Regions from separate parts of the Homo sapiens genome. Here region 2 is linked to region 1. The links are contacts of gene promoters, found by promoter capture Hi-C in blood cells and fetal thymus (Javierre and others, 2016). All regions are on one chromosome and are shown on one strand. The core of a region is centred on a gene start or on the middle of the fragment in contact, and the rest is flanking DNA. Distances in the headings are between cores, read along the strand shown. Region 1 holds the start of FAM241B (family with sequence similarity 241 member B). Region 2 overlaps LOC105378345 (a long non-coding RNA gene).

Region 1 (7,139 bases), core at 2,712-5,211:
TATAGCACTAAATGTTTACATTGAAACATCTCAAATCAATAATCTAAACTCCCGACTCAAGAACTTAGAAACAGAAGAACAAAATAAACCCAAAGCAAACAGAAGGAAGGAAATAATAAAGATAAGAGCAGAAATCAATGAAATTGAAAACAGAAAAATAGAAACAGAAGACTCAGTGAAGCAGCGCTGGTTCTTTGAAAAGATCAGTCAATAAGATTGATAAACCTCTAGCAAAAGTGAAAGACACAAGATAGAAGACACAAGTACCAATATCCGGAATGACACAGGGATATCAGTGCCTGCCCTGTAGCCATGTGACTCGTTCTTCACAATGGAATGTGAGGGAAGTAATATGTGCTACACCTACAATACTTTTCTTTAAAAGAAATCACTAGCCCTCATTTCTTCTGTCTCACCTTTCCATGAGCTGCATATGGCGAAGAAGTTGGTGAGGCAGTTTTGACGACGCAAATAAGGGTGGCATCCTAGGGTGTAGGGGAGCAATAAGCTAGGAAGAGTGGATGTCCTTGGCTGGCCTTGTGAAGCAGAGCTGCCCATCTACTTGATTGAGTCACTGTATATTTTTTTTGTTCCAGCAGCATAGCCTGTACTCAAGCTAATATATTACACCTAGGTGGGTTTATGTCTTAGGGGACTTACATACTTACATATAACCAAGATATTGTGGGGCCACTCCAGTCTTCTGACTATGTAAGGTGTTTTCTGAGGCCTCCATCAATCCTCTGGTCCCCCATCATCTGTCCATGGATGAGGGCCATCACTGAACCACCCTTCATACCTGTCTACCTGACCCTTTCAAGTCCAGCAATTTTCCCACTACTACTACTACTACTACTACTACTACTACTACTACTACTACTTACTACTCCCTTGTCATTGCTGGAGCACAAGAATCCTTCCACCACACCTCAGACACAATGGACCCAAGGATTTCCACAAGGCCATATAAGGCCCTACCTGTCATACTCACTATCTGGCCATTCCCTTTCCCAAGCCTCATGCCCACCTTTGAGATCCAGCACACAACACCTATGCTCCCATCATTTCCTCCTTTCCCAGTGTTTTCTCTGAAGAGGCCCCTGTCATACTGTCTTCCATGGCCACAGGCCTAAGGAGGCACCAACAGTGGGCACTGGCAAGCTAGTGCTGCCTTTCTCCCACACCATTCTCTGAGTAATAAACACAGGCATAGTGTCTGCCAGAGTAGGGGAAAGAGACAGGGGGAAATAGCAGGAGAAAGAGATAGATAGATTAATATATTTAAAATGACATCACCATTATCATCATGCCATTCTCTTTTGAGGCAGAAACAGTTGTTCCCACCTGCAGAGTCAGAGAACAGGCCAGGACACCTGACTTAAAAATTATGACCTCTGCTATGAACAGAAAACCAAAAGCACATTTTTATTGACCACATGTTGGGGTTAAGGCATGACCCAATGCCCAATCTTGTGCTGATGGCACTGGGGAAGGTGGGGGCACAATTGTAAAGAGGCTGCAGAGCTGAGATGAACTCAGGGGAGTCTGTTTGGTGGATGCAAAAGCCTGGAATGCAGAGCCCGGGGACCTGCCTTCATTTGAACGCTGGCTCTGTCACTGACCTTGGGCTCATCATCTACCTTGTCTCTGAGCCTCAATTTCACCTTGGTAAAAGAGGAATAATAACACCTACTCTTTCTATTTCATAATCCAAAAAAGAATGAAGTGGTCTCTGGGAAAACACTTTGGAAGTAAGGACTCTGCACATATAGGGGTTATTATTATTATTACATGAAACAATCACGTTTGTGGATGAAGGGATTTAGATTGGGTGGAGCTGGCCTTCCAGCAGATATTCAGGCCCAAGCAAAGCAGGCCTTTGGGTGATCTACTTCAGGGAAAGCAAAGAGGCCAGGTGGGCAGAGCTGAGGGAAGGAGTTGCTGACAGTGTGCTGGGGCTAGAGTTGGAGGGTTGTCAAAGCCTTGCCAATGAGTTGGGGCTTGTTGGAGCAGACAGTAGGGACCATTGCAGGTTCTTGAGCAGGAGAGACACCTGAAGAAGGTGGAGAGATAGCAAAAGTGGTATGTTGCCTCCTTAGGCTATTTTAGTTGGTAATAATAGGCTATTTCTAAGTCCAGTCAAGCACTATCACTTCCCACCCCAAAGCTGTTCTTGACTTTTCTGTAGGGACTTGCTTCTTCCTCTCGACTCTTACGGTTCTCTCCAGCTGGAGTGTATCTCTCTGGCAGCAGTTATACCAGCTCAAATCTTCCTGAAAACATCCATGATTTTCTGCCTGTATCCCCTGGTTTCCCAGCCCACAGAGGTTACCTCCCTCTTGGGGCTCCTGAGTTCCGTGACCTACTTATGGGGTTCTGTTCATGGAAGGCAGTGTTTCTCGGCCCTAGCTGCTCATTAGAAGACTGGTTTTTAAAATGTCTCCATGCACAGATTGTAACCCAGATCAACGACATTGTGATCTCTGGGGTGGAACCTAGGTATTGGGATGGTTTCTAAACATTCCAGGTAATTCCAATGTGCACATTGCGATTTGGGATCACAGGCCACCTCTGACAATCGGGCATCCTGCCTTGTGATTACTGCTTTCATGCGTGCACTTGGCATACCTGGAACACACTGGGGTGTGGGGAGAAAGCACTAGGATTTTGGTTTATATTTACTTTACATCCTATGCTTTTAAAATGTGCATGCTTTACAATCGACTTGATAGTAGAAGAGGTAATGATCATAACAGTCAGCAGCCGTTGAGCATGTACTGCAGCCAGGCTCTCATCCAAGCACTTGACACGAAAGTGCCAGAAAGCAGTCACACCAACATTCAAACACAGGATGGCTCCAGCAGCCACCTTTTATCCATCATGCCAATCTGTTCTCACAGTACACATGTGTAATTTAGAAACAAACAAAAATAGTAACATATAAATAAGATACAGATACCAGAGCGACCCGTGAAACATTTTTTGCTGATAAGGTTTCATGATCAAATAATCAGACTATGGTGGCCGACTATGAGTCCTCCAGGCCAGGTCTAAATCTCTCTCTTAGTTTTGTTCCTTCTGCCCAGCAGCTAGCAGAATCTGGGTTCTAATAAATGCTCAACAAATATCTGCCACTCCCACAAACATTTATTAAATGATAATCATAGCTAACGTTTATCAACATTGCCAATGTGCCAGAGACATCATACTTAATCTTCACAGAAGTCCTGTAAGGCTATGATTACACCTGCTTTGTGACACTGAGCAGCTAAGTAACTTGCTAGAGTCCAGAACCTGAACCCAGACTGTGGGACTGCACAGCTCATTCTCCCCCACTGGTGAGCAGGTCCACAGGGAGCAGCTTATGAAGGTGGTGGGGGAGAAGTGGATTTTAAAACATCAGGAAGGAGGCAGAGGTGGATCATTCACTCCCTGCAGGTGGTTCCTTCTGCCAAGAGTGACCTTCTCTATCCTTACCTACCCTCCTGCCCCAGCTCAAACGCATCTTCTCCTGGAAGCCTACAGAGGGTTCTGCCCCGTTCCTGCCTCATCTTCCCCACTGAACTTGGAACTCCTAGAGGGCAGGGTTGGGTCCTACTCAAGGGGCATCCACGGAGCTGGGTCAGCAAACATAACACTGGTCATCTGAGCCTGCGCCCGCCCTTCCTCCCAGGCCAGGGCGCCCCCACCCCCTGGGTTTTTCCTCCGTGGACGCCGCTTCCTTTTCCTTCTTTTCTCCCTCCTCCTTCTTCTCCTTCTTTTCCACGTGTCTTCTCCTCCCATCCTCTTTTCTCTCCATCCCCACCTCCCACTCCTTCCCACGCCCCATCTCCCCGACCCCCAGCACCCCGCGCCGCCCCCAACCCTGGGCCGGGCAGGTGCAATTCCTCAGGCGGCCTACAGAGGGCGATGTGCGCCGCCACTGGGCCGCGCCCCTCCGGCGCGCGCTTCCTGTGAGGTCAGGTGGGAGGAAACCGCCTGGAGCCGCCGGGAGTGGACGCCGCCGAGGCCCGGAGTCGCGCCTGCAGGTGAGTCGCCGCGCCGGGGAGGGAGCGCATCCCTCGCTGCAGCCCGGGCCGGGACTTGGAGCCGGTGTCGGGCTCCAGAGGCTGGGGCTGGCGGCCGGGGCAGCGTCCCTCCCGCCCCCGGCCCGGAATGTCAGGTGCGCCGCGGGCCGGGCGCGCGGGTGGCCCACCGGGCGGGGGCGCGATGACAAAGCACAAAGGGACTGCGCGCGACCACCATCCGCTCGGCCTGCGCCAGGGCCAGCGGGCTTCAGGAGGGGGACGCGCCTGTCCCGGGCTCCAGGCTACGGGCAAGACCACAGGGCTCCTGACCTTTTTCGGCATACATGTCACCAGTGCTATCTGGAATGTAGGTGGACACTGAGGCTCATCTCCTGAGAATGAATGGCCTTTACCCAGACTCAAGGGGAGGCGTGGAGGGGCCCCGCAGTCCAGGGGTCCGCGGAGTGGAGCCTTTCGAGGGCCACCGCAGCAACCCCCTCCCATATTTTGGGAAGGCTGGGCCCTGCGCCCGTTAGCCAAGGTTGGACTGGTGTTCCCTGCGAAGTGAGGGACAGGTGAGGGGCGTGCCCTCTGCAGCAAAGGTGTGCTCTTCCGAGGCGCATGATGGCTAGGATGGTCTGCCGCTACCAGGCAGTGGTTGTAAAGTAACCCCGAAGTGACCCTCATCTCCCTGGGTGTTCCTGGGGAAGGCCCAGGTGGTGACATTGACTCCCTGGGGGAGCAACACACTCGACCCATTTTTTAGTGGAAGGGAATTGGAACCCCACTGGGGATGCTGGTGCCCTGGACTCCCAGTTTAGTACCCAGGGAGGGCCCTAGAACCAGAGCTTCTGGCCTCGTGTTCCTTCTCTGCTGTCCGTAGGTGTGATCCCGGGCAGGCCACTTAAGTCTCCCTGTGCCTCCGCCTGTGCAATGGCCGCGCTAGTACCCTCCTCGGGGGAGTGTTGTGAGGCTTGAGTGAGGTGAGCCTTGCAGGATGGGCCTTCCACGGGGCGTGGGCCACAGCAGAGGCTCTAGTCCCAGTTGTGCTGTTGGCAGTGTAGTGATTGGCAGTAAAACTTCCTTTGCCAAGGATCTTTTTGATAGTTTTCCTGGTGGACTCAATGTCTGAAATCTTTTTGCCTGGCAAACAACTTGCCTTTATTTCTCCCCTTTTTGTTAATCAGACACAGCATCTACTCAGCGTGGGTCACCTCTGTGAACATCACTGACTGCAAGCCTCCCTCAATTTCTGGTAAATTTTTTCCTTCAAGCTTTTTGAGGTCAGGGGGAAAATCCTCCACAGATCTTCACGAGTCTGGTCCCAGATCACTAACAGCTAAAGGTTTTGTGGTGGGGAGAACTTCTGTGCCACTTGGCTTCCATTAGCCTGCCCACCCTGACCACACAATGCAGGTGCAGCCCATCAGGGACCCACAGCGCCTGGGAGGATGGTGCGGATCTTGGCCAATGGGGAAATCGTGCAGGATGACGACCCCCGAGTGAGGACCACTACCCAGCCACCAAGAGGTAGCATTCCTCGACAGGTAGGTACTCATTTCCTGTGGAGTGGGACAGATGGCCTCCTGTGTACTGGCTACTCCTAGCTTCCAGAAGTCTCTCTTGCTGGTCACTAACCTTTTCTAGCCTGAAGCCCTCTTTGCAGAGAGCTGGGGAAGATGCAGTGGCTTATTGTCTACCTCCCCAGATCTCCTTTCTCCAGGCGCCTCCCCAGACTTCACAGCCAAGAGCTCTCTCTCCTTTAACTTGGTTAGCAAACCTCACTGGAGCTAGCGTCTTTCTTTTAAGAGTGGGTTGGATGACAGAAGCTGGAGAGGAAGTGGAGGAGATGAGCCCTGGGCACAGAATAATCATTTTAAAGGGGTGGCTGGGCGCGGTGGCTCACACCTGTAATCCCAGCACTTTGGGAGGCTGAGGTGGGCGGATCAGGAGGCCAGGAGTTTGAGACCAGCCTGACCAACATGATGAAACCCCATCTCTACTAAAAATACAAAATTAGCCAGGTGTGGTGGTGCATGCCTGTAATCCCAGCTACTCAGGAGGCTGAGGCAGGAGAATCGCTTGAACCTGGGAGGCGGAGGTTGCAGTGAGCTGAGATCGCGCCATTGCACTCCAGCCTGGGTGACAGAGCGAGACTCCGTCTCAAAAAAAAAAAAAAAAAAAAAAAGAAAGGAGTGATGATGAGTATTAAAAATGCTGGCCCTAGAGCCATGCCCTGTAGTCCAACCTGCCTCAACCACTTCCTCTCTCCTCTGTCCTGGGCCTGATGTGAGGAATATAGACTGGCATGTTCTGTGCTCTGAGAGCTTGTGACTTGGTTGTTGGGATTCTTATGGGTGGCATGGGGGATTGCTGAGAAAGGAGGGTGTGACCCTGGGTGGCTGTAGGAAGGGCAGGATGCAGCCTAGAGAGGTTGATTCCTGGCTGGTGCGTCAACCCAATGATTCATTCATCTCTCTCTGTCTTCACATTCCAGAGCTTCTTCAACAGGGGCCATGGTGCTCCCCCAGGGGGTCCTGGCCCCCGCCAGCAGCAGGCAGGTGCCAGGCTGGGTGCTGCTCAGTCCCCCTTCAATGACCTCAACCGGCAGCTGGTGAACATGGGCTTTCCGCAGTGGCATCTTGGCAACCATGCTGTGGAGCCGGTGACCTCCATCCTGCTCCTCTTCCTGCTCATGATGCTTGGTGTTCGTGGCCTCCTCCTGGTTGGCCTTGTCTACCTGGTGTCCCACCTGAGTCAGCGGTGACCTCTGAGGGCTGATAGGGGTGGGTTTGTTGAGAGGGACTTGCTGGGCCTTGGTGTGAGAGCAGGCATATTTGGAGGGGATCTGGTGGTGCCTTGAAGGTATGATCAGAGAGGGGACCACAGGTGTGTGTTTCCCCTTTGTGTTAAGCGTGAGGCAGAGGGAGACGTTAGTCCAGCATTTCCAAAGTGTGGGTGGGTCCGTTGGTTCCCAAGATACTTTTAGGTGGTATGGGGCCTGCATTAAGTGGCACAAAATCAGAGCAAGAAAGCGATGCCCTTCCCAATTCTCTCAATCCTTTTATGCCGAGAAGATCTCAGCTGGATGCCAACATGTTCCGATGCCTGTGGAAGACATGCCGACGTCTC
Region 2 (7,139 bases), core at 1,392-3,891, 99 kb before region 1:
GCCCCCTTCTGCCCAGGAATTTGTCTGCTGTTCATGGTGCCCCGGCTCTGCCAGATTTTCTCCAAGATTGGAGTGGGTGCCAACAGCAGGGAGAAGCCAGGCAGTGGGAGCAGGCACTTCTGAGCCTGCAAGGGAAGTGAGTCCTTCCCGGGTTCCCAAGAGTACAGTGATGCCTGAGTCTGCAGCTACAGTTTGGGTGGCTGCAGTGGCACCTGGAGAATTCCCACCGCAACTCAGAAGGAGCAGGGCCCCCACTTGTTTTTGGCTCCCACTGGCTCCATGGAGGTGCAACCCCATGGCTCATCCCCGCTGCAGCAAGTGTGATAGCAGCTGGCCCAGCCATCTGAAGTACCCACTGCCATCAATTGCGCAGTACATTTTAAATAGGTGAATTGTATGGCATATGAATTATATCTCAATTAAACTGTTAGAAAATCCATGACTTAGAAATGTATCAACTCTGGATGATTTTACAGCTCTCTATACTATTAATAAGGTAATATTAACTTCTGTAACTTCCCTCCTTATATCTCAGGGGCTTAGCACAATGGAAGTTTACCTTCTACTCACATAAAGACCAAAACAATGTTTCTCATTGTTAGGTGACAATCTCCCAATGGTATTTCAAGATTCCATGTTACTCCCATCTTATGTGTCTACTATCTTTATTTTTTTATTAGTTTACTTTATTTCAATCATTTTTGGGGAACAGGTGGTTTTTGGTTACGTGGATTAATTCTTTAGTGATTTCTCAGATTTTGGTGCACCCATCATACAAACAGTGTACACTGTACCCAATGTGTAGTCTTTTATTCCTCACCCCCCTCCCACCCTTCCCCCGCAAGTCCCCAAAGTCCATTATCATTCTTATGCCTTTGCATCCTCATAGCTTAGCTCCCACTTATAAGTGAGAACACATGACATTTGGTTTTCCTTTCCTGAGTTATTTCACTTAGAATAATGGTCTCAAGCTCCATCCAGGTTGCTGCAAATGCCATTATTTCATTCTTTTTTATGGCAGAGTAATATTCCATGGTGTGTGTGTGTTTATATATAGGTATCTCACATTTTCTTTATCCACTCATTGGTTGATGGATATCTACTATCTTTAACAGATGGTTCCAAGGTCATTGCAAAAGAAGATGCAAAGAGGATGGAAAATTGAAGGTTCCTATGCCTCAGGTCTGGAAAGGATCTGCTTCTGCCCTGTTCCATTAGCCAGAACTCAGTCACATGGTACCCTAACAACAAGCAAAGCTGAGAACTCTAGTCTAGTGTGGGCCCAGGAGATAGAAGAACTGTTGAGTCCTTATCAAATTTTAACAAAATGGAAACTTTGTTATTCTAATTATTCCAGATGGTTGAAAAACATTGCTAGCCACTTTATAAAGCAAACATGACCTTAATAACAAAATCTGATGAGTAAGTTCCCAAAATATTATAGACCTAAAGTCCGTAAAATGGCCTAAAAAATTATAGACCAATTTCACTTAAGAATATAGATGTGGCTGGGTGTGGTGGCTCACGCCTGTAATCCCAGCACTTCGGGAGTTGGAGGCAGGTGGATCATTTGAGGTCAGGAGTTCGAGACCAGCCTGGCCAACATAGTGAGACCCCATCTCTACTAAAAATATGAAAATTAGCCAGGGGTGGTGGTGTGTGCCTGTAATCCCAGCTATTTGGGAGGCTGAGGCTGAAAATGAAAATCTCTTGAGCCTGGGAGGCAGAGGTTGCAGTGCCCAGCCTAGGTGACAGAGTGAGACTCTCTCTCTCTCTCTCTCTCTCTCTCTCTCTCTCTCTCTCTATATATATATATATATATATATATATATATATATATATGCAAACATTCTCAGTGCACACAGTTTAAAAGTAGGAAATCTGTCAACATAAATGAAGGATACTTTAAAGACAAAGATCACATAATTCTGTCAATAAATGCTAAAAATACTACTTATAAAATTCCAAAGTGATCTCTTACAACAACTCTAACATAGGAATATGAAGATTATAACTAGACAGGATTAAAGCTGGGATTGGAATAAAAACTGCTCGGAACAGGAAAAATAAAGATGAAGTAAAGAGCTGATCTAGGTAAAAATGGAGCAAGGGAAACAGAACTAGGAAATCTAAGCAAGCAAGCCACTATATTTTTAACACTATGTAGACACAACAGAAGAGACTGATGTAGTCATAGAAAATACCTTGACTATTGCTTTTTCTAAAAGTTCAGGAAAACTAATTTCACATAAAAATAAATAAGAAATACTGAGGTCAAATCTTATTCAAAAGTATTATAGGCTGGGTGTGGTGGCTTATGCCTGTAATCCCAGCACTTTGGGAGGCCGAGGCAAGTGGATCTCTTGAGCACAGCAGTTTGAGACCAGCCTGGGCAACACGGCAAAACCCCGTCTCTACTAAAAACACAAAAACTATCTGTGCATGGTGGTGGGTGCCTGTAGTCCCAGCTACTCAGGAGGCTGAGGTGGGAGGATCACCTGAGTCTGGGAGGTCAAGTCTGTGGTGAGACATGATTGTGCCACTGCACTCCAGCCTGGGTGACACAGTGAGACTGTCTCAAAAAGCAAACAAACAAACAACCCCAAAGTATTGTAAGAAAAAAGAGAATAAGGGGGAGAATAATATTACTACAAACAAAAAAAGCATGCCAGAAAGATATACCTGCACAAAAGGTCAATAAATGTGGTATAGCACATAAACAGAATTAAAAACAAAAATCACACGATTATCTCAATAGATGCAGAAAAAACATTCAACAAAATCCAGCATCACTTTACAATTAAAACTCAGCAAAACTGGCATACAAGGGACTTCCCTCAATGTAACAAAAGCCACCTATGACAAATCAAGAACTCAACCCCTTTTACATAGCTGCAAAACAAACAAACAAACAAAACAAAACAAAAAAAAAACAAAAAAAAAACTTAGGAATATTAACAAAGAAGATGAAAGACCTCTACAAGGAAAGCTAAAAAACACTGCTGAAAGAAATCATAGATGACACAAACAGATGGAAACACATCCCATGCTCATGGATGGGCAGAATTAATATTGTGAAAATGACCATACTGCCAAAAGCAATCTACAAATTCAATGCAATTCCCCTAAAAATACCATCATCATTCTTCACAGTTAAAAAAATTGTTTTAGAATATGGAACCAAAAAAGAGCCCACATAGCCAAAGCAAGACTAAGCAAAAAGAACATATCTGGAGGCATCACACTACCTGATTTCAAACTATACTATAAGGCCGTAGTCACCAAAACAGCATGGTGCTGGTATAAAAATAGGCACATAGGCCAATGGAACAGAATAGAGAACCCAGAAATAAACCCAGATACTTACAGCCAACTGATCTTCAACAAAGCAAACAAAAACATAACATGGGGAAAGGACACCCTTTTCAACGAATTGTGCTAGGATAATTGGCAAGCCGCATGTAGGAGAATGAAACTCGACCTTCATCTCTCACCTTATACAAAAATCAACTCAAGATGGATTAAGGATTTAAATCTAAGACTTGAAACTATAAAAATTCTAGAAGATAACATCGGACAAACCCTTATAGACATTGGCTTAGGCGAGGATTTCATGACCAAGAACCCAAAAGCAAATGCAATAAAAACAAAGATAAATTGCTAGGACTTAATTAAACTAAAGAGCCTTTGCACAGCAAAGGAACAGTCAGCAGAGTAAACAGACAACCCACAGAGTGGGAGAAAATCTTCACAATCTATACATCTGACAAAGGACTAATATCCAGAATCTACAATGAACTCAAACAAATCATCAAGAAAAAAGCAAACAATCCCATCAAAAAGTGGCCTAAGAACATGAATAAATTCTCAAAAGAAGGTATACAAATGCCCAACAAACATATGAAAAAATGCTCAGCATCACCAACAATCAGGGAAAAGCAAATCAAATTGCAATGCGTTACCACCTTAGTCCTGCAAGAATGGTCATAATCAAAAAATCAAAAAACAGTAGATGCTGGTGTGGATGCGGTGATCAGGGAACACTTCTCTACTGCTGGTGGGAATGTAAACTAGTACAACCGCTATGGAAAACAGTGTGGGGAGTCCTTAAAGAACTAAAAGTAGCACTACCATTTGATCCAGCAATCCCACTACTAGAGGAAAAGAAGTCATTATATGAAAAAGATACTTGCAGATGCATGTTTATAGCAGCACAATTTGCAATTGCAAAATCATGGAACCAACTCAAATGCCCATCAATCAATGAGTGGATAAAGAAACTGTGATATATATATATATAAAACGGAATACTAAGCCATAAAAAGGAATGAATTAATGGCATTCACAGCAACCTAGATGAGATTGGAGACTATTATTCTAAGTGAAGTAACTCAGGAATGGAAACCCAAACATCGTTTGTTCTCACTGACATGTGGGAGCCAAGCTATGAGGACACAAAGGCATAAGAATGATACAATGGACTTTGGTGGCTTGCGGGGAAGGGGGAGAGTGGGCAAGGAATAAAAGATTACAAATAGGGTGCAGTGTATACTGCTGGGATGATGGGTGCACCAAAATCTCACAAATCCCCACTAAATAACTTACTCATGCAACCAAACACCATCCATACCCCAATAACTTATGGAAAAAGAAAAAATATAGAAAAAAGAAAATTAATCAAACCCAAGGACGGGTTCATGGGAACCCCAATTTATAGTCAGTTGGTCAGAAGCACAGGTAAAACAACCTAGGGCTTGTGATTGGCATCAAAAGTGGGGAGCAGTCTTTGCGTACTGAGTGCTCAACCTGTGTTATCTGATGCTGTATCAAGGTAGATAGTGTCAGAATTGAATTAGTGGACACCCAGATGGCGTCTGCTGCAGAATTGATTGCTTGTTTGGTGTTCTGGAAAAACCCACAGACATTTGGTCATAGATGTATTCTTTATTAGATGTGGCATGGGAGCAGAGGAAAAACAGTTTGTGTTTTCCACACAATACTCTAGGAAAATTACTAGGCTTTGAAGAAAAATAAAAATTCTCTGGTCATCTAGGCAAAAAAACTCCTTAAGTTAGAAGTGAAAGAAAATTGGATTATTATCATACTTTTAGGCAGTAATACTTCATGCCAGAAGAAAATGGAGTAACATATTTAAGATCTTCAATGAAAGAAAGTGTAAACCAAGGATTTTATATCCAGCAAAGGTGACTTTTAAGTACAAAAGCAGAGACAAACTGTTACCAACATGTGGGAACTCAGGGAACATTGTTTCCATTGCCCCTTCCTGTGGAATCTACTAGAGGAGCTTCAGACAACCAGAAAGAATAGAGAGACACCAGCGTAAAGACTGGTGGTGAATGTTAACATATAGATACTTGTAGAATGTAATGGTTATATGATCTGATTGTGTAATTATGGTACAATCCCTCAAAATAATGGGGGCACAAGGAGAATGAAAGAGCTTATCAAAAATATTTTAAAACATTTTCAATAATCATATCGGTGGTGATAGTATTAGTATGACTATTCTGATACTGTTGTGTGTACAATGTGGAAAAAAGCAAATGAGTGTTTATGAGATTTCTAATCAGTTGATCCTCTGTGTATGCCAGAATTCTTGGCATGGAAGAAAGAAGATACAGATGTAATATAGTAGATGTTAAATAGAAACTCTATAATATTGGGCCAGGTGTAGTGGCTCATGTCTGTAATCCCTGCACCTTGGGAGGCTGAGGTGGGAGGATTGTCTGAGGCCCGGAGTTTGAGACCAGCCTGGGCAACAGAGTGAGACCCTGTATCTTAAAAAAAAAAAAAAAAAAAGCAGGGTATGGTGGTGCACACCTGTGGTCCTAGCTACTCGGGAGGCTGAGTGTTAGAGGATTGCTTGGGCCCAGGAGGTCGAGGCTGCAGTGAGCTGTGTTCATGCCAGTGCATTCCAGGTTGGGTGACAGGGTGAGATTCTGTCTCAAAAAACAACAAAACCCCAAATTCTAATATTGAATTTGAATTGGAAAACCCCGTATGAACTGTTGAGGTATTTTATCTTAAAATATTTACATATTTTATTTCTATTTTCTAGTTCTGTTGACCAAAAACATCTGGGCATAATGACCACCCAAATGCGGTGAGCATTCCTAGGACCAAGATTATAGCACTGAAATACCCTTTCCTATGAAAAATAAACCAGGCTTTTAGAGAAATATTGTGAGAGGAATCTGGAATATCTTATCATACCAGACAGAGAGGAACTTCTTAAGCCACAAAGGTTATGTCAAAAGGACCCAGGAGTCAACTTGAAGAGGCTCCCAGTAGCCAAAATGGGACAATGTGAGCTTCAATGAGGGTAATAATTATAATGGACTGAAATCTATCAAATGCTTAACCCATGAGTTAATAATAATACTAAAAAAATAAAACCCACAAACCAATTTGTCTTTTTTGGAGGGTGACAGAGAAGCAATGCGTTGTCTTAGATCCTGGTAATTAAAGGGAAAGAATCAAGCATTTATGCCACTTCTCTTATATGAACAGTACCATGGAGTAACCAAATAATAAACACCTTATAAAGTCATTCTAGCTAAGAAATAGAATATCTGGTGTGATTTGAAAGCTTTCACCTTCAGTGTCTAGGGCCAGCTTTCTGCCCCTGGCACCCACACCCAACTCCCTGAGGCTATGGTTCCATTTATTTCTATGCATCCTGGCCCTCACTCTCATCTGACACATGCCCTTACATTCAGGAGATGCTCAATAAATCCTCTGTAGAGTGATGTGAACCCAGTCCAGAGTGAGACTTGGAGGATATGTGGCTTTGGGGGATAGAGAGCCTGCTCGCTGTCCATCCCTCATCTCAAGGAAGAGCTGCAGAGATTTTCTCCCAACTCTCTCCCACTGTCCCAGGGGTTGTGGGGGCAAATCCTGTGCCTTTTCCTAAAAACCAGACCCAGAGGAGTTCAGAAATGGCAGGGATGGAGCATCTTCGAACCTGAACTTACTTAGTAGGAGGGAAGGCCGGAGGTCGCTTAGTTCATCCCACTGCCACCAATTCATGTACAGGATTGAGGAAGCCACCTTTTTGGGAATAAAAATGTTTGACATCCTGTCATCAAGCACTGGGCCAAGGGAACTCAGTGAACAGG

Evidence for each region. The method cuts DNA at HindIII sites, captures the fragments that hold promoters and counts their contacts. A CHiCAGO score of 5 or more calls a contact.
Region 2: a fragment that was not itself captured here is called in contact with the fragment with the promoter of FAM241B in region 1 in 4 of 17 cell types (M2 macrophages, naive CD4 T cells, megakaryocytes and 1 more); the score reaches 7.2 in M2 macrophages.

The regions. Positions count from the first base shown.
Region 1 is chr10:69,626,286-69,633,424 of GRCh38, forward strand. FAM241B (family with sequence similarity 241 member B) reads left to right here and starts at 3,962. Exons shown (of 4, transcript NM_145306.3): 1 at 3,962-4,028; 2 at 5,195-5,262; 3 at 5,424-5,554; 4 at 6,505-7,139. The coding sequence starts at 5,459. The coding sequence ends at 6,774. RefSeq lists an enhancer at 4,505-5,390. The HindIII fragment of the contact is 17,043 bases long and covers 1-5,279 here.
Region 2 is chr10:69,529,018-69,536,156 of GRCh38, forward strand. LOC105378345 (a long non-coding RNA gene) reads right to left here. Exons shown (of 3, transcript XR_007062177.1): 3 at 6,993-7,071. It also overlaps a transcript of TSPAN15 not described here. Among named protein-coding and RNA genes, the nearest start is that of NEUROG3, 41 kb to the right of the region's middle. The HindIII fragment of the contact is 7,934 bases long and covers 1-6,608 here.